Linked DNA regions of Homo sapiens: all the other regions are linked to region 6. The links are contacts of gene promoters, found by promoter capture Hi-C in blood cells and fetal thymus (Javierre and others, 2016). All regions are on one chromosome and are shown on one strand. The core of a region is centred on a gene start or on the middle of the fragment in contact, and the rest is flanking DNA. Distances in the headings are between cores, read along the strand shown. Region 1 overlaps SMAD4 (SMAD family member 4). Region 2 has its middle 5.2 kb from the start of ME2. Region 3 overlaps LOC107985152 (a long non-coding RNA gene). Region 4 holds the start of ELAC1 (elaC ribonuclease Z 1). Region 5 has its middle 39 kb from the start of MEX3C. Region 6 holds the start of POLI (DNA polymerase iota).

Region 1 (2,700 bases), core at 147-2,646, 3.2 Mb before region 6:
TTCCCCCTCCCCTCCTTGGCCCATTGCCCATGCCCCAGTCTAGGATCTTACCGCTTTTCTGGTAATTGTTTCCTAACTGGTTTTCTATTTCCTTTTCCAAAGCTGTTCTCCAGGCTCTCACTGAAGTTTTCTAATACAAATCTAATGCTGTTTTTTCTCCTCTTTCTACCATGAACCTACTCTAGACAAAGCTCTTATCCGTCTCTGCTTTTCCTCATCATTTTCCTTCAGCCTGGCAAATTCTTATTCGTATGTGGTAATCCATTAATACTATTCTACCAATATTCTGATGGCTGTCCCCTGGCACATGGTAGTATTGTGCTTCTTTGTCTCCCTCATCCCTACCTTGAAATTAGGCATGGCCCAGAGTTTCTTGCATTGGCACTGTTGACATTTTAGGCTGGATAATTTATTTTGCGTGTTGTCCAGTGCATTGCAGGGTATTTAGCAGCAACCATGGCCTTTAGCCACCAGATGCCCAGTAGTATCCAGTTGTGACCATATATTGCCTCCAGATGTTGCCAAGTGTCCCCTGAGGGACAAAGTTGCCCCTGGTTGAGAACTCCTGGCATGGCCTTATGACTTTGGCCAGTCAAACATGAGCAGAAGTGGTAGCCTTTAAAAGAAGATATATGAGCTGTCCTATCCCTTCTCCTGCCATTTAAGGACATATGTAGAAATGGAGCCTTTGTCAGTCTAATTTCTGAGCGATGACAGCAGTGCCCCCAGTTGATCTGTGATGAATGTGTATTATATCCTAAGCAGAAAATAAGCTTTTGTTTTAAGCTACTGATCTTTTGGGGGTTGGTTGTCACTGCAGCATAGACTAGCCAATCCTGACTGATACGTTGTGCCAAGACCTAGGTTACCTATGAACTTTCCATGCTCCCTCATTTATAGTCCCAAATCACTTTATACCTACTTCTTTTAGCATTTATTACTTATGTAATAATATGTTTGGGTCTTCCAGATTAGTAGTTCTCAGTGGAGTAAGTACTGCTCTTTAAGGGATGTTGTAGAAATTTGTGGATGGGTTTGGTGGATTGGTGGCCAGGGATGCCATCCTGCAATGTGAGAGACAGCGAATAATTATCTTGCATCCCACAAGACTTTCAGATGCCCCAGAAATTCATGTAGGAGGAAAATATAATTAGCCCAGAACCTAACTCTATAATATATATTCACTTTGCCAGGAGTTAAATTTCTTTTAATTCATTTTTTTCTTGCCTGCCTGCCTCCCTCCCTCCTTCCCTCCCTCCCTCCCTCCCTCCCTCCCTCTCTCCCTCTCTCTTTCTCTCTGTTTTCTTTCTTTTTCCTTCCTCCCTCCCTGCCTCCCTCCCTTACTTCAGGCTCTGTTACCCAGGCTGGAGTGCAGTGGCGTGATCTTGGCTCACTGCAACCTCTGCCTCCCAGGCTCAAGCCGTCCTCCCACCTCAGCCTTCTGAGTAGCTGGGACTATAGGCATGTGCCACCATGCCCCACTAATTTTTTGTATTTTTTGTAGAGAGGAGGTCTCACTTTGTTGCCAGGCTGGTCCTGGCAACCGTGCCTTTGTTGCCAGGCTGGTCCTGAGCTTAAGTGATCCAACCATGTCGGCCTCTTAAAGTGCTGGGATTACAGGCATGAGCCACTGTACCCGGACTTGGTTGTTTTGTTTTTTATTTTTGAGACCAAATCTTACTCTGTCACTTGGGCTGGAGTGCAGTGGCTCAGTCATAGCTCACCGTAGCCTTGGTCTCCTGGGCTCAAGCAGTCCTCCTGCCCCAGCCTCTTGTTAATTCATTTTCTTAGTTCAAGTTGTTTAAGAGTTCACCATTTGGGAAAATCCATGTTACTGACTGCAGTGCCATTGTGCTATTTGAGTTGCCAGTATAACACGTTTGTCTTGGAAGGTCTGAATTTGTAGCTGTCACATTTGTAATGATTCTGTATATAAGTGCTAGCATCTAACTTCTTTATTATACATTCTAACTTAGTTGGCATGCCTGAGTATTTATAGGTGGAAGTACACATTATATATTAAGCTTTTCCTCCTTTTTGTTATAGTTAGGGCATTGTTAAATTTTCAAAATATGTTTAAGTAGTTTAGAATTTTGTTTCAGTAAAGCTAAGGTGGTGATATAAATTATTTGTTGGAAAAAAAATGGGATGTTGGTCTGAGAGAGTCCAGACCCACTTTCTTACTATGGGCTTCCTGTTTTTGTATCTGTAGTGCTTTGTATATACAGTGTTTGTTGAATTGGTCAATTTATGTTTCCCACATTTCTTTTATGTACGTTGTTGCATCTAATTACCACAATAAATTTGTGAAGTTGTCAGGGCAGGTGTTTCCATTTTATAGATGAGAGAATTGAGAGAGATGTTAACATTCAGTCATGCGGCTAGACCTTTAATTAGAATATATAATTTTATTTATATCGATATTATGCTCTTGCCTACCATACTTCCATAATCTAGAACCATTTAATGTAGGAATACATCTCTTTATTCCTGCTAGTATTATTTTTTATATGCATAACTTTTAATTATGTTTCAGGCACTTGTGGTCATAGGAATACAATAAAGAGAGAGATGAGAAAGCTGTTTGTTTAAGAAAGCGAGGTCATTATCATTTGTATTCAAAGCAACTTGGTATTAAAACAAACTTTGAGATACCGTTAAGGCCCCAGCATAGCATAAATTTTAGAAATGATGACATTT
Region 2 (2,700 bases), core at 69-2,568, 3.4 Mb before region 6:
TGACAGCTTACAGCGGGGAAGTCTTTCCCAGGTTGGGGAGTGGGGTGACATAATGCTCCAAGCTTACTTTCAAATCTTTCCAAGACACTGAACTGTACATAAACATATTTTAAAATATTCAGTCTGTACAGTGTAGTTTGTATCCTCTTTCCACTTATTAGTGGTACCCTTGGATGAATCAACCTCTAAGTCCTCAGTTTTCCCATATGTAAAATGGGGATAATAATTATACCTACCAGCTGGGCACAGTGGCTCATGCCTGTAATCTCAGCACTCTGGGAGGTCAAGGTGGGAGAATAGCTTGAGATCAAGAGTTCAGGAGCAGCCTGAACAACATAGCAAGACCTTGTCTCTACTAAAAATAAAAAACATTAGCTGGTTGTGGTGGTACATGCCAGTAGTCCCAGCTACTTGGGAGGCTGAGGCAGGAGGATTGCTTGACCCTGGGAGATCAAGGCTGCAATGAGCTACAATTGGCACTGCACTCCAGCGTGGGTGACAGAGCAATACCCTATCTTGAACAACAACAACGACAAAAACAGGAGTGGCACGGTGGCTCATGCCAGTAATCCCAATACGTTGGGAGGCCAAGATGGGAGGATTCGTTGAGTTCAGGAGTTCAAGACCAGCCTGGGCAACATGGCAAGACCCCAACCCCATCTCTAAAATAAAATAAAGAAAGAAACAGAAATAATTATACCTACTTGATAGCGTTGTTAGGATAATTAAATAATTTTAATATATACATGAGGTGGGCGGGGTACAGTGGCTCATGCCTGCAATCCTAGCACTTTGGGAGGCCAAGGGTGGATCACCTGAGGTCAGGAGTTCAAGACCAGCCTGGCCAACATGGCAAAACCCTGTCTCTACTAAAATTACAATAATTAGCTAGGTGTGGTGTCACACACCTGTAATCCCAGCTACTCAGGAGGATGAGGCAGAAGAATTGCTTGAACCTGGGAGGCAGAGGTTGCAGTGAGCCAAGATCATACCACTGCACTCCAGCCTGGGCAATAGAGCAAGACCCTGTCTCAGAAAAAAAAAAGTAAAAATAAATAAAATACACTAGGTGCCTTAGAGCAACGCTTAGCAAATAGTAAGTACTCAATGAATGGTAATTATTATTTATCAAACATCATCTATATGCCAGGCAGACAGCCTGCATGAGAATACTTTGCATCTGTATCCTTTTAATATTCACAAAACTCTTGCATATTTTGTGTCTCATTCCTCTTTTCAATGCCCTTTGAGATACATAGGGAAAGTTTAATTGTGTCCACCTAACCGGAGAAAAAGACATCCAGCCTCTTATTAAGACAGTGTGAGAGCTAGCCCTAGAATTCAAGTATTCCACACTCCCAAAGTGTGCTTTTTCCTTCGATGTAAATAAGTAAATGAACAAAATAAAACAAAAGCAAAAAGAAAAAATTTGAAGAACTGAGGCATTTGTCCAGATAATTTTCAAACATCCCCTCCATGCCTTCCACTCCCACCCCATAGGAATCCAAACAACCTTCCTTCTATCATTCCCTGATTATCTATAATTGGGGTGTCTAATTTATGGATAACTTATACTCTGCTTGGAGTTATATTTCTTGCTCAGCCATAGTTCTAGTCAAAAATTGTCAGGTTTTATCTTCATTTACTGGAGAGACCCTGCATTTAGAAGAGATTCTTTCCTTCTCTCAAGGATTATCCAGAAAGTGATTGAGCCATGTTTAGCCTTAAATCCTACCCTCACATTTTTGTGAAAAAGCCCATATTTGTATAAATCAACTCTAATTGGGTTTTCTGTTGTTGGGAGCTAAAAATCATTTCTAACAGTTACTGTTAAAATGCACAAAAATCTTGTTCCTGTCGTAATATCTTCATTTATATTTCCTCCTTTAGAATAGCTCATTAACTCTTATTAGGTCAAATTGAGGATGTCAAGTATAAACTACTAGTAGTAGATTAGTAATAATAGTAGTAAGGATAATCATAGTACTGTTTTGATTCTGTGTGCCCTGACCTACTATATATTAGACCTTAACATTCATTTTTAAAAACTCTATACTTGAAAAATAACTACACACTTACATTATTTCTGGAGACCTATGGATGTATATAATTCCCCTTGGTCTTTTAACTGATGAGACATCTTAGTGTCTCACTATAACTATTACTGGATCAAAGTAGCTTTTTTTTTTTGGAGACAGGGTCTCACTCTGTCACCTAGGCTGGAGTGCAGGGATGCGACCTCAGCTCAGTGCAACCTCCGCCTCCTGGGCTCAAGTGATCCTCCCACCTCAGCCTCCCAAGTAGCTAAGACTACAGGCATGCCCCATCAGGCCTGGCTAATTTTTTTTTTTTTTTTTTGTAAAGATGAGGTTTCACCATATTGCCCAGGCTGGTCTCAAACTCCTGTGCTCAAGCAATCCACCCACCTTGGCCTCCTAGAGTGCTGGGATTACAGGAGTGAGCCACCTCACTCAGCCCAAAATAGTATCATTTAAAGATGAAATAGCTCAATTCAAGCAAGAATGCTGGACAGATAGGGGATAAAAGGTAAATGCAAGAAAGCACAGTATTTTTCAAAGCTTAAGATGATCATGCAGAAAATTCACAACCAGTTGCAGAGTAATGACTACTTTATTTAACCCAGGAGTTATATCCGCCAGTGTAATTCTTGCCTGTAGAAACCAGCAGAGGGAAATTTCA
Region 3 (2,766 bases), core at 48-2,547, 3.2 Mb before region 6:
CATATTTCCCTACAAAAAAATTTTTTTAAAAAAATTCTTGACTGAGTCTGATAAGCTTAAAAAGCTCATTTTGATTGTATAATTTTAATATCTAATTGATCTAAACAACATAAAATATTACATATTTTGGTATCTATTAAAATTAAAGGATATTTTTGCTGAATGAAATAGAATTGGGTCAAACCTAATCCTAGTTTTCACTTCTATGGATAGAAGCACAAACACCTTGTTCATTCATTCAACAAATATTTATTGAGCACCTCCTACGTGTCAATAGCTACTCTAGGCACTTGGGATACACTGGTAAACACTACAGATAAATCCTTGCCCTCATGGAGCTTACATTCTAGCGGGGGGTAATAGGCAATAAACAATAAACACAACACATAAGTAAATCATATAGTATGTCAGAAGTGCTATAGTAAAACAGAAAGCAGGGTAAAGGGGCTTTGGGTGTACTGTGAGAGTTAAGAATGGGCTGTGATTTTTAAAAGGTCAAGATAGGCTTCAATGAGGTAACTTTTGACCAAAGGAGGTGAGAGAGTTGGCAATGCAGATATCTGGGGGAAACATGTACAAGGCAGAGGGCACAGCCAGTGCAGAGGCCCTAACTTGGGAGCATGGCTGGCATCTTCTAGGGACAAGAAAAGAGGTCGGGAAGGTTAGGACATATTGGAGAATGACTGATAGGAAATGAGATTAGAGAAGTAATGCTCAGGGTGGAGTGGTGATGCTGATCTTATAGAACCCTTTAGACTATTGTAAGGATGTAGATTTTTACTCTAAATGAAATGAGGATCATTTAATGCAGGGATTTAAGCAGAGTGCAGATGTCTGACTTTTTTTTTTTTTTTTTTGAGACGGAGTCTTGCTCTGTCACCCAGGCTGGAGTGCAGTGGCGCGATCTCCACTCACTGTAAGCTCCGCCTCCTGGGTTCACGCCATTTTCCTGCCTCAGCCTCCCGAGTAGCTGGGACTACAGGCGCCCGCCACCACGCCCGGCTAATTTTTTTGTAATTTTTAGTAGAGACAGGGTTTCACCGGGTTAGCCAGGATGGTCTCAATCTCCTGACCTCGTGATCTGCCCGCCTTGGCCTCCCAAAGTGCTGGGATTATAGGCGTGAGCCACTGTGCCTGGCCCTGACTTCTATTTTAAAAGGATCTCTCTAGCTATTATGTTGGGAAGAGGCAAGCATGAGAACAGGGAGAGCTTTTAGAAGATGAATCCAAAGATGAGATGATGGTGGCTCAGACCAGGGAGCAGCAGTGGAGGTGGTTAGGGATGCTCTGTGGATTAGACATGGGTGTGAGAAAACGAGGGGAATCCAGAATTGCTGGACAGCACTAAGGATTTACTTGAGGTTCATGGTGATGAAATTAAAGTGAAACTGCTCAGGGTTTTTGGTCTGAACAACTTGAACAATAGAGTTATCAAATGAGATTGGAAAGCTAGTGGGTTCAACAGGTTTGAGGGAGAATATTGCTCAGTTTGTGACATGTTTGAGGATATCAGAATCTGGAGTTCAGGTAAGAGATCCGAGCTGGAGATATAAATTTAAGAGTTGTCATCATATATGATGATATTATATATCTTAGATGGTACTGAAAGTCAGGAGACTGGATGAGATCACGGAAATGAGTATAGATTAAAAAGAGTTCAAGGGACCAGGTGCAGTGGCTCATGCCTGTAATCCCAGCCCTTTGGGAGGCTGACGCAGGCAGATCACTTGAGGTCAGGAGTTCAAGACCAGCCTGGCCAGCAAGGCGAAACCCTGTCTACGGAAAAATACAAAAACTAGCCAGGTGTGGTGGTGGGCGCCTGTAATCCCAGCTACCTGGGAGGCTGAGGCAGGGAGAATTGCTTGAATCTGGGAGGCAGAGGTTGCAGTGAGCCGAGATCATGCCACTGCACTCCAGCCTGGGTGACAGAGAGAGACTCTGTCTCAAAAAAATAAAGAGTTCAGGGAATAAGCCCCAGTTAAGGGGTCTGAGAGAAGAGATGGAACCCAGCAAAGAAGACAGGGAAGGAGGAACCACGAATGAAGGAGGAAAACCAAGAGGATGTGGTTAAAAAAAGAGAATCAAGTGATGAGCTGTGTCAGCTGTTACAGATAAGATGAGAACCGAGACTAGATCATTGGGTTTAGCCAATGTGAAGTTCCTTGTTGGCCTTCACAAGAGTGGTTTTGATACGGTAGTAAGGATGAAAGCATGAATGGAGTTTAAGAGAGGATGGGAAACCTAACACTCAGCTGATGACCTAAAATACGCCACATGTGTACCTCGCATGTAATGATTCTACTACATATGTATGGAGTCTTAACATACGTATCATGCTTGACATGTTTTTGAACTTTGTATAAATGGTATTGTATGGGATGTATTCTGCTGTTGCAGAATGGGAGAAGAACTGCAGACAAAGTATAGAAAACTCTTTTAGAAGTTTTGTTGTAAAGGGAGTAGAGAAATAGGTGATAGCTGACAGTAGAAATAGGTCAAAGAGAAGAATCTGTAGGATTGGAAAAATCACAGCTGCTTGTAAGCTTATCAGAATGACCCAGTAGAGAAATACTGATAAAACAGAATAGGCGGATAATTGCTGGAGTGACAGTGAGGATCTTGATTAGGCAAGATAGTACTGGAATCTATGTCTTGGTGACAATACTCCTTTAGCTAGGAGCACGGCAATTCAACCATGTGAGGGTGGGGAAGGCAAAGTAGAGGCTGGTATGTGGGTGTGGGTGATGCTGAGATTCTGTGGAATTT
Region 4 (2,700 bases), core at 118-2,617, 3.3 Mb before region 6:
GTCCTGTAGTCCCAGCTACTGATACTTGGGAGGCCGAGGTGGGAGGATTGGTTGAGTCCAGGAGGAAGAGGTTGCAGTGAGCTGAGATCGCGCCACTGCGCTCCAACCTGGGTGATAGAGTGAGACCCTGTCACAAACAAACAAACAAACAAAAACCCAAAACCAGGGACCATGACAAATTTTTAAAATCTCTCAGCCCCAAAAATAATACTATCCACAAAGTCAGAGCTCCATTAATACTGGAATAAAGGTTAAAAGAGCCCAATAAGTAGAAGTAGATGAGTTAATGATTTTTAAACAAGTGGCAGTCTCTCTGTCCTGGTAGTTTCAAGAAACACCACTCCGATTCCTATTTTGAAGCTGCTGGATTTTTTTTTTTTTTTTTTTTTTTTTTTTTAACAGAGTCTCGCTCTGTCGCCCAGGCTGGAATGCAGTGGTGCGATCTTGGCTCACCGCAACCTGCACCTCCTGGGTTCAAGCGATTCTCATGCCTCAGCCTCCCGAGTAGCTGGGACTACAGGCGTGTGCCACCATGACCGGCTAATTTTTTTTTTTTTTTGTATTTTTAGTAGAGACGAGGTTTGCCATGTTGGCCAGGTTGGTCTCGAACTCCTGAGCTCAGGCAATCCGCTCGTCTTGGCCTCCCAAAGTGATGGGATTACAGGTGTGAGCCACGGCGCCCGGCCAGCTGCTGGATATTTTGACCACCTCAAGTACGCTGAGCACGAAATCAGTGCATCTGGCAGTACACAGGAGCTTGAAATACTTTTTTTAAAAGTTGTTATTCAAACTGAAGGAGTTTTTCCCTGTGGTCTGTAATCGCCACGTGCCCGTTCTGTATACAGCCAGCCTGGGTTTTTCAATCCCACGTCCGCTACCTAAGAGAACACCAAGGCTTGGAGTGAGTATGGCACAATCAGCTTCAGATGTTAAGCAAATATTCCAACCTAGAGTAGGAAAATGGAATATGGACGGGGCTTTATGAAGGTGCATGGTCAGGCAAAGGATCTTAGTGGATGAAAGACAGTAAAGATTCATCCCAACCAAAGACCAAAAATGACACATATGTATGAGCAAAACATCAGGAAGAACACTCTTATGTGGAAAATATTACACGGAAAACAAAAGAAGAGTAACTTTTTCCCTTTTGGTTTATCCCGCTCTGGTCCTCAGGGCGATAGCTACCACCTGACACACAGCGACCTGGGAAAGAGGGAAACTCAATCACTGCCCTCGCGGCCCGGGGGGAGCCCGGAAGCGCGCCCAGAGCCAGGTCCCGCGCGGGCGCCACCGAGCGCGGACCTCCCTCGCATCCTAGAGCGGCCGCGCGGGACCCGGCCGGCGGCGCACTTCCGCCCGGGCGCATTGTAGCCCCGCGGACAGCTGGGCCAGGGTGCGGGCCTGCGCCTCCCTCGGCTCCTGGCGCGGGCCTCGGGGAGAGGGTGAGTGCGGTAGGGCATACCAGAGGGGGGCGGGCGCGCTTCCTCGGGACTCGCCGGCTCGATCAGGCACGGCCCGGCGCTGGGGACCTAAGCCTGGGGAGCGCCCGGGAGCGAGGACGCGCCTCGTTCACCGCCCCGGGCCGGAGTCTCGGCGGGCCGGAGCCTCGGCCGCCCGGCGCCGCCGCCCACCCAGCCTTTTTCGAGGCCAACACGGTCTCGTGGGGGAGCCTGGGCTCTCTGGAGGCCGGAAATCTGGCCTCTGGCCCTGCCTGTGCCTTGGCCTCTTACTCTCTGCCGCCCGGCCTCGGTTCTTTCAGCTCTAAGATGGAGGACAGCGATATCTGCCCTAGGCACACCACAGGGTGATTGCAGGGTTGACACTGCCTGCCTGAAAACGAAGGAGCGCCGGTTCTCAACCCGGCAACCAGTAGAATCGCTTGGGAAGCCTCCAAATGCTGATGCCCCATCATCACCGGGGAATTGTGATCTGCGGCCAGGACCGAGATCCACGGGCCCAGAGTGAAATGACAGTACTGTGATCACGACTGGAATATGCACTTCGCCGAACGTGGATCACAGTCTTGAGAAAGCAAGCAGCTGGGTTTTTGTTTTGTTTTTTTTCCAAGAAGACAGGGACCTAATCTGGTTTGCTCGCATTTAATTCCTAGTGCCTAGAATGGTGCATGTCCCAAAACATGCACCATTGATTAAATAATTTCTGATTACTTCCCGACCTATTTGGAGGGTTTTCATTATATTTGTTTTAAAATTATTATGGAAACCTTCAAGTCATATATGAAAATTGAATAGTAACTGAACTCCCAATTCATGATCAATTCTGTTTCATCTGTTACCCTCTCCCCCACTGTAGTATTTTGAAGCAAATCTGAAATGTACCATTCCATCTGTTACCTTGTTCATGTTTATAAAACACAATAACACCTTTTTAAAACATAAAGCCATTATCAGTGTACTTAGCACTTCATTTTACCCTCTACTATCCAGTCAGCATTTACATTTTCCTAGTTGTCTCTTTCCTCTTACCCAGTTTGTCCAAATCAGTATCCAAACAATCTACACACGTTATATTTGGTTGATGTCTCTTAGATCTCTCTTAATCTTTTTCTCTTGCTCTTTATTTTGTTCCCTGTATTTTACTTGAACAAGTCATTTGTACGGTTCACGTTTTCTACAACCAGGATTTTGCTTTTTCCATCTCTGGTATCCTTTAATAAGCAGGTATTTAGACCTGCAGACT
Region 5 (2,700 bases), core at 14-2,513, 3.1 Mb before region 6:
GATTGCATCACTGCACTCTAGCCTGGGTGACAAAGCAAGACAGCCTGTTTTTTTTTAAAAAAAAATGTTGCAAATTATGGTCAACCAACATCTTTTTGCCACAAACTTCAAACACAAAAAAAAGAATCTTTACAAAAATATACAGGGACACCACAAATTGGTGGTTACCTATAACATTAAACAAACTGGACTCTTCTTTTTTTTTTTTGAGATGGAGTCTCACTCTGTCTCCCAGTCTGGAGTGCGGTGCTGCGATCTTGGCTCACTGCAAGCTCCACCACCCGGGTTCATGCCATTCTCCTGCCTCAGCCTCCCAAGTAGCTGGGACTACAGGCGCCCGCCACCACACCTGGTTAATTTTTGTATTTTGTTTAGTAGAGACGGGGTTACAAACTGACTCTTAAAAGTGGCTTCTCCACAGCATATCATTTGAATTATTACCATTGCCTGGTACAGTGTTTTTAAAGTATTGTTACAACATTGTATTCCTGATTTTTTTTTTTTTTTGAGACAGGGTCTAACTTTGTCACCCAGGCTGGAGTGCAGTGGTGTGATCTCGGTTCACTGTAGCCTCGATCTCCTTGGCTCAAGCAATACTCCTGTTTCAGCCCCAAGTATCTGGTACTACAGGCGCACACCACCATGCCCAGCTAATATTTTAATTTTTGGTAGAGATAGGGGTTTCACCATGTTGCCCAAGCTGGTCCCAAACTCCCGGGCTCAAGAGATCTGCCCACCTCAGCCTCCCAAAGTGCTAGGATTATAGGGTGAGCCACCATGCCTGGCCAATTCCTGATAATTTAAGTAAACCAAACTATAAATAAATGAATGATATGTGCCTAAAAACAACCATAGTTTATATTATCAGTGGCCATTGGATTTAGGAGCAGTCCAATACCTTGATGTAGATTTTGATCTAGAACTAGACTTTGATCTTGACTGACATTTGGATATAAGTAGTTTTTTTTCTTTGATTCCTTTTCATATCTTGAGCCAGACTTATTTAATATGCTTTGGAATCTTATTTATTTATTTATTTTTACTTACTTTTTGAGACAGGGTCTTGCTTTGTCACCCAGGCTGGAGTGTAGTGGCACAATCAAGGCTCACTGCAGCCTTGACCTCCCAGTCTCAAGCAATCCTCCCACCTCAGCCTCCCAAGTAGCTGGGACTACAGGCATGCACCACCATGCCTGGCTAATTTTTTTTTTTTTTTTTTTTTTTTTTTTGTAGAGATGGCATTTTGCCATATTGCCCAGGCTGGTTTCAAACTCCTGAGCTCAAGTGATCTTCCAGCCTCAGCCTCTCAAACTGCTGGGATTAAAGGTGTGAGTCACTGCACCCAGCATGGAATCTGTTTTAGAGGTGCCTCTAGTTCTGGTGTGAGATGCAGACCTAGAATGTGATTTAGCCTTCACTTCTTCCTTGGGCTGCCTTGAATGAGATGTAGATCTTGAAAAAGATGGATTTTGGTGTTTGAATCCACCATTGTCGGAATGGCTTCTGCTACTCCGTGGTTTTCCAGTTGGTTGATTTCTAGGACTGTAAGATCTTCTATAATTGTAATCAAAAGACTGACTTCTGGATCTCCTTTCATAACTTTGGCTTCTAGAACTTCTGTATCTGTCATAACCATCATGGCGTGAAGAGCTGTACACATTCCTCTGTTCCTTGGATTTCATCTGATTTGGTGTCTTCTGATCCCCCTGTGTAAACTGTATTTCAACTTGATGTCCACAAATCTATTTCCTGTCCAAATTATGCAAAGCATCTTCAGCATCACAAACATCCTCAAATTGAACACAAGCAAATCCTCTTGGACGGTGGGTGTGGAAATCAAGTGGAACATAAACATTTCCTGTAGGACCATCATGACCAAATTTATCCTGTCTATCTGCAGACCTGGTGTCATTGGCCACGTTCCTGATGGACAGAGACATGTTTTGGAGGAGTGTGCAGGTAGTGGGACATGATGGTGGCGTGAGTCCAGGCCGGAGGCCCTAACAGACCAGGCAAACTGTCCATAGCTCTGCTGTTAGAAATTCGTATTTCTAACAAGTTCCTAGATGATGATCATGCTGATGGTCTGGGTACCACTAGTCTATAGAAATGACCACAGCCTGAATGAAGACAAGCTGAAGGCAGTGAGGCTACCTCTGCCCTTGTCAACCTTGCTCACAGGTGGAGACAAGGCTGTCACCTGAAGACTGATGATCTCTCCCCACAGCCTGCCACATGCCTGAAATTCACCCTCAGTGCCGGACTCCTTTGGACTCCTTAGCCTTAAACTTGGCTCTGCAACTGCCTCTAGAAACTAGAAGCAGTGTTAGCGAGCGGCGAGCAGGGATGCAGAGGGCAGGGACGGGGAGGAGGAGGGGTTTGTGATCCCACCTACCAGCCTCACTGCCGAGGGCACAGGCTTGGAAGCCTCAGGCTCTGATGTCAGAGAGAGCTGAGCTGGATTCCCTATGCAGCCGCTAGCTAGCTTTTGACTTCAAATCTCAAGAAAAAGACCTTATTATTTCTAATTCTCTTCCTGCCTTCTAAGAAGGGTGGGTCTTGGTAGCTGAAGGCTCTTGTCTGCTGGGCTCAGCACGGGTTGTGGGCATGTAAGCATGGAGGAGCTGGTAGCAGGAGCTGGGGAGTGGGAGGCTGCTGCGTAAAGGAAGAAGGAGGAAGCTGTGGCCAGTGAGAAAGCAC
Region 6 (2,787 bases), core at 126-2,625:
AAATGTAATAATAATAGAAATAAAGTGCACAACAAATGTAACGCACTTGGATCATCCCAAAACCATCCCCCTCCCTTCTGTCTGTGGAAAAATTGTCTTCCATGAAACCAGCCCCTGGTGCCAAAAAGGTTGGGAATGGCTGCTTTAAAGGGTTTCTCAAGGTTCTAATATTTTATTTGATAAGAAGTAGAATCATATAAAAAACCAAACATATGTGTTAATTTGGGTATTTATACAGATATAGTGTATATACATACATACAGGCATGGAGGAATTTCCAAATTTCCTCTATTGTAAAACATACACATACACACACCAACACACACATGCACACATGGTATCCTAATAGAAGGCAAGGAGAATAGACATTTACTGAGCACTTCCTATGTGCCACATGTTTTATATACATTAGGATATTACAGTATATGGTAGCTTTTATCCATTCATTCAATCTCAATACTTTTTTTTTTTTTTAAGAGTAGAGCAACTGAGGCTCACAGCAGTTATGTAACCTGCCCAAAGTCACACAGCATGATGGAGGGTCTGGATTGGAGATTTTGTCTGACTACAACACTCATGTATCAAATCCTATTCAGTTTTGATGTTAAAAATTCTGTGGTTGAATTCGTCACAGTGTCTTTAAATAAAACAACAACAAACAAAACACAGCAAACCTTAACATAGTTGCTAATCATATGAGTTTACAAGGCCACCTGTGTCTTTACTATCAGTTACACTCCTTCCCACCCCATCACATTAATCACTCAGGTCTAGGGATTTGCAAGTTTGCTAACAGCCGAATGGAACAAAGACAAAACGCTAAAATTTGTGATGTGGGCCTAACTCCAAAGCCTTCAAGAAAAAAAAAAAAAGGCCAGGCGCAGTGGCTCATGCCTGTGATCTCAACACTTTGGGAGGCCTAGGAGGGTGGATCACCTGAGGACAGGAGTTCGAAACCAGCCTGACCAACATGGTGAAACCTCGTCTCTACTAAATACAAAAAAATTAGCTGGGCGTGATGGCGCATGCCTGTTAATCCCAGCTACTTGGGAGGCTGAGGCAGGAGAATCGCTTGAATCCGGGAGGCAGAGGTTGCAGTGAGCCGGTATTGCGTCACTGTTGCCCACTCCAGCCTGAGCAACAAGAACGAAACTCCGTCTCAAAAAAAAAAAAAATAGCCATTTGTGCTTTCAATCTCTCCGCTTCCGGCCTCCACCCGGCGGGAAAAAACTCCCGCACGTGGGCCTCCACGATTCCTTGGCATGCGTGTCACTCTGGGCAACAGGCTGGTCGGCCACGACTGCGCAGGCGAGAGGCACAGAGCGACTGGAGACTGTAGTCCCCCGGTTTCCCTGGAGACCAGGCGGAAGCGGCCGGAAGTAGCGCTGCGGTTGGCAGCGGCGGGATGGAGAAGCTGGGGGTGGAGCCGGAGGAGGAAGGCGGCGGCGACGACGACGAGGAAGACGCCGAGGCCTGGGCCATGGAACTGGCGGACGTGGGGGCGGCAGCCAGCTCGCAGGGTGCGCCGCAGCCAGAGGAGCCAGCGGCCTCCTTGGGTGTAAATGAGAAGGGTGGGGCAGGCGGACGCTCGGGGCGGCGGCCACTGGGGCGCGACCGTCCCCGCCCCACTCGGCTCCTCTAAGAGAGGGCTGCCTCCCTCTGCCTTGTGTTACGCGGCGGGTACCTCTAGAGGAATGGCTTCACCCAGCAGGAGTAGGGTGGGGCGCGTCCACACTACAAATACGTGTCGAGGGTTTATCTGCGCCGTCCTTTCCTCTGTGAGGGGCGAGGTGGGGCGGGAATCCCTCAGCCAGCCCGACGAAAACTGCAGAGGCTTCTGGGCCTTTTAACTTTGGAGAAGTTGAGGACCTTGTCGCTCATTTGGCAGAAGGTGGGACCCGGATCTCAGTCCTGGCAGGAAGGGATGGCTCAGAACCTAGGCGGAGTCAGGTCCGCTGTGGTCACGTCTCCGGTGACCCACTTCCAGCTCTGGTCTTTACCTTGTACCGCCCACCTCAGGGCCTGGATGTAAAGGCACCGGTTCTCATTTCCTGCTGGTTTTGTTTCATTCATTAATTTAGAGACAAGGTCTCCCTGCAGCCTCGAACCCCTGGGCTCAAGTGATCCTCCGCCCCAGCCTCTCCGTCCCGAGTAGCTGGGACAGCAGGCACGTGCCACCACACCTGGCTGATTTTCAGATTTTTTTAGATCAGGTGTAGCTGTGTTGTCCAGGCTGGTCTCAAACTCCAGCCACAAGCGATCCTTCCACCTCAGCTTCGAAAAGTATTGGGATTACAGTAGTTAGCCATCGTGCCTGGCCTTTTAAATTTTGGAACTTTAGGTTTACCTGAAAGTTGCAGAGCTAGATCCCCCTAGTGTTAACATAAACTCAGTACATTTGTCAAAACTAGGAAATTAACATTGGTATAATACTATTAATTGAACTACACGCTTTATTAATATTCTACCAGTTTTTCTGCTAACGTTCATTTTCTGTTCCAGGATCCCAACCAGAATATTGTATTGTATTTTGCCTGTCTTGTTTTTAGCCAGTGTTGAGAGAAGGAGTCGCCTCTGTCATTCCCTCCCCGACAAATAATGACCTAACAACTTTTTAAAATCAAAGAACTATTCAGTCTTTCAATTTAGTGAATATTTATTGGTGGTCTGTTATGTCCTAGACACTGTTTTAGGCACTGGCGATTTAGCATTAAACCAGATAATCCTGCTGCCATGGGAGCTAAAAATAGCCCACACTTGTACCCACTGGTTGTCTTTTGCCATTTT

What was found. Contacts are between HindIII fragments. The CHiCAGO score rates a contact against its expected background, and 5 or more counts as called.
Region 1: a fragment that was not itself captured here is called in contact with the fragment with the promoter of POLI in region 6 in 3 of 17 cell types (total CD4 T cells, total CD8 T cells and naive CD8 T cells); the score reaches 8.9 in total CD4 T cells.
Region 2: a fragment that was not itself captured here is called in contact with the fragment with the promoter of POLI in region 6 in 1 of 17 cell types (naive CD8 T cells); the score reaches 5.9 in naive CD8 T cells.
Region 3: a contact is called between a fragment that was not itself captured here and the fragment with the promoter of POLI in region 6, in 2 of 17 cell types (non-activated CD4 T cells and activated CD4 T cells). The highest score is 10.7, in non-activated CD4 T cells.
Region 4: the fragment with the promoter of ELAC1 here is called in contact with the fragment with the promoter of POLI in region 6 in 1 of 17 cell types (non-activated CD4 T cells); the score reaches 7.3 in non-activated CD4 T cells.
Region 5: a fragment that was not itself captured here is called in contact with the fragment with the promoter of POLI in region 6 in 1 of 17 cell types (non-activated CD4 T cells); the score reaches 6.0 in non-activated CD4 T cells.

The regions. Positions count from the first base shown.
Region 1 is chr18:51,041,054-51,043,753 of GRCh38, forward strand. The region is part of intron 1 of SMAD4 (SMAD family member 4); the gene reads left to right. Among named protein-coding and RNA genes, the nearest start is that of SMAD4, 12 kb to the left of the region's middle. The HindIII fragment of the contact is 1,251 bases long and covers 772-2,022 here.
Region 2 is chr18:50,872,575-50,875,274 of GRCh38, forward strand. No RefSeq gene overlaps it. Among named protein-coding and RNA genes, the nearest start is that of ME2, 5.2 kb to the right of the region's middle. The HindIII fragment of the contact is 2,517 bases long and covers 61-2,577 here.
Region 3 is chr18:51,023,140-51,025,905 of GRCh38, forward strand. The region is part of intron 1 of LOC107985152 (a long non-coding RNA gene); the gene reads right to left. Among named protein-coding and RNA genes, the nearest start is that of SMAD4, 5.7 kb to the right of the region's middle. The HindIII fragment of the contact is 2,488 bases long and covers 54-2,541 here.
Region 4 is chr18:50,966,673-50,969,372 of GRCh38, forward strand. ELAC1 (elaC ribonuclease Z 1) reads left to right here and starts at 1,368. Exons shown (of 4, transcript NM_018696.3): 1 at 1,368-1,442. RefSeq lists an enhancer at 996-1,055 and a silencer at 1,206-1,695. The HindIII fragment of the contact is 7,484 bases long and covers 1-2,700 here.
Region 5 is chr18:51,157,414-51,160,113 of GRCh38, forward strand. It overlaps the pseudogene SRSF10P1. Among named protein-coding and RNA genes, the nearest start is that of MEX3C, 39 kb to the right of the region's middle. The HindIII fragment of the contact is 6,310 bases long and covers 1-2,700 here.
Region 6 is chr18:54,268,142-54,270,928 of GRCh38, forward strand. It overlaps POLI (DNA polymerase iota), which reads left to right and starts at 1,376. Exons shown (of 10, transcript NM_007195.3): 1 at 1,376-1,520. The coding sequence starts at 1,406. It overlaps LOC124904307 (a long non-coding RNA gene), which reads right to left and starts at 1,764. Exons shown (of 2, transcript XR_007066379.1): 1 at 1,685-1,764. RefSeq lists enhancers at 738-887, 1,148-1,277, 1,808-1,857 and a silencer at 1,488-1,737. The HindIII fragment of the contact is 5,901 bases long and covers 1-2,787 here.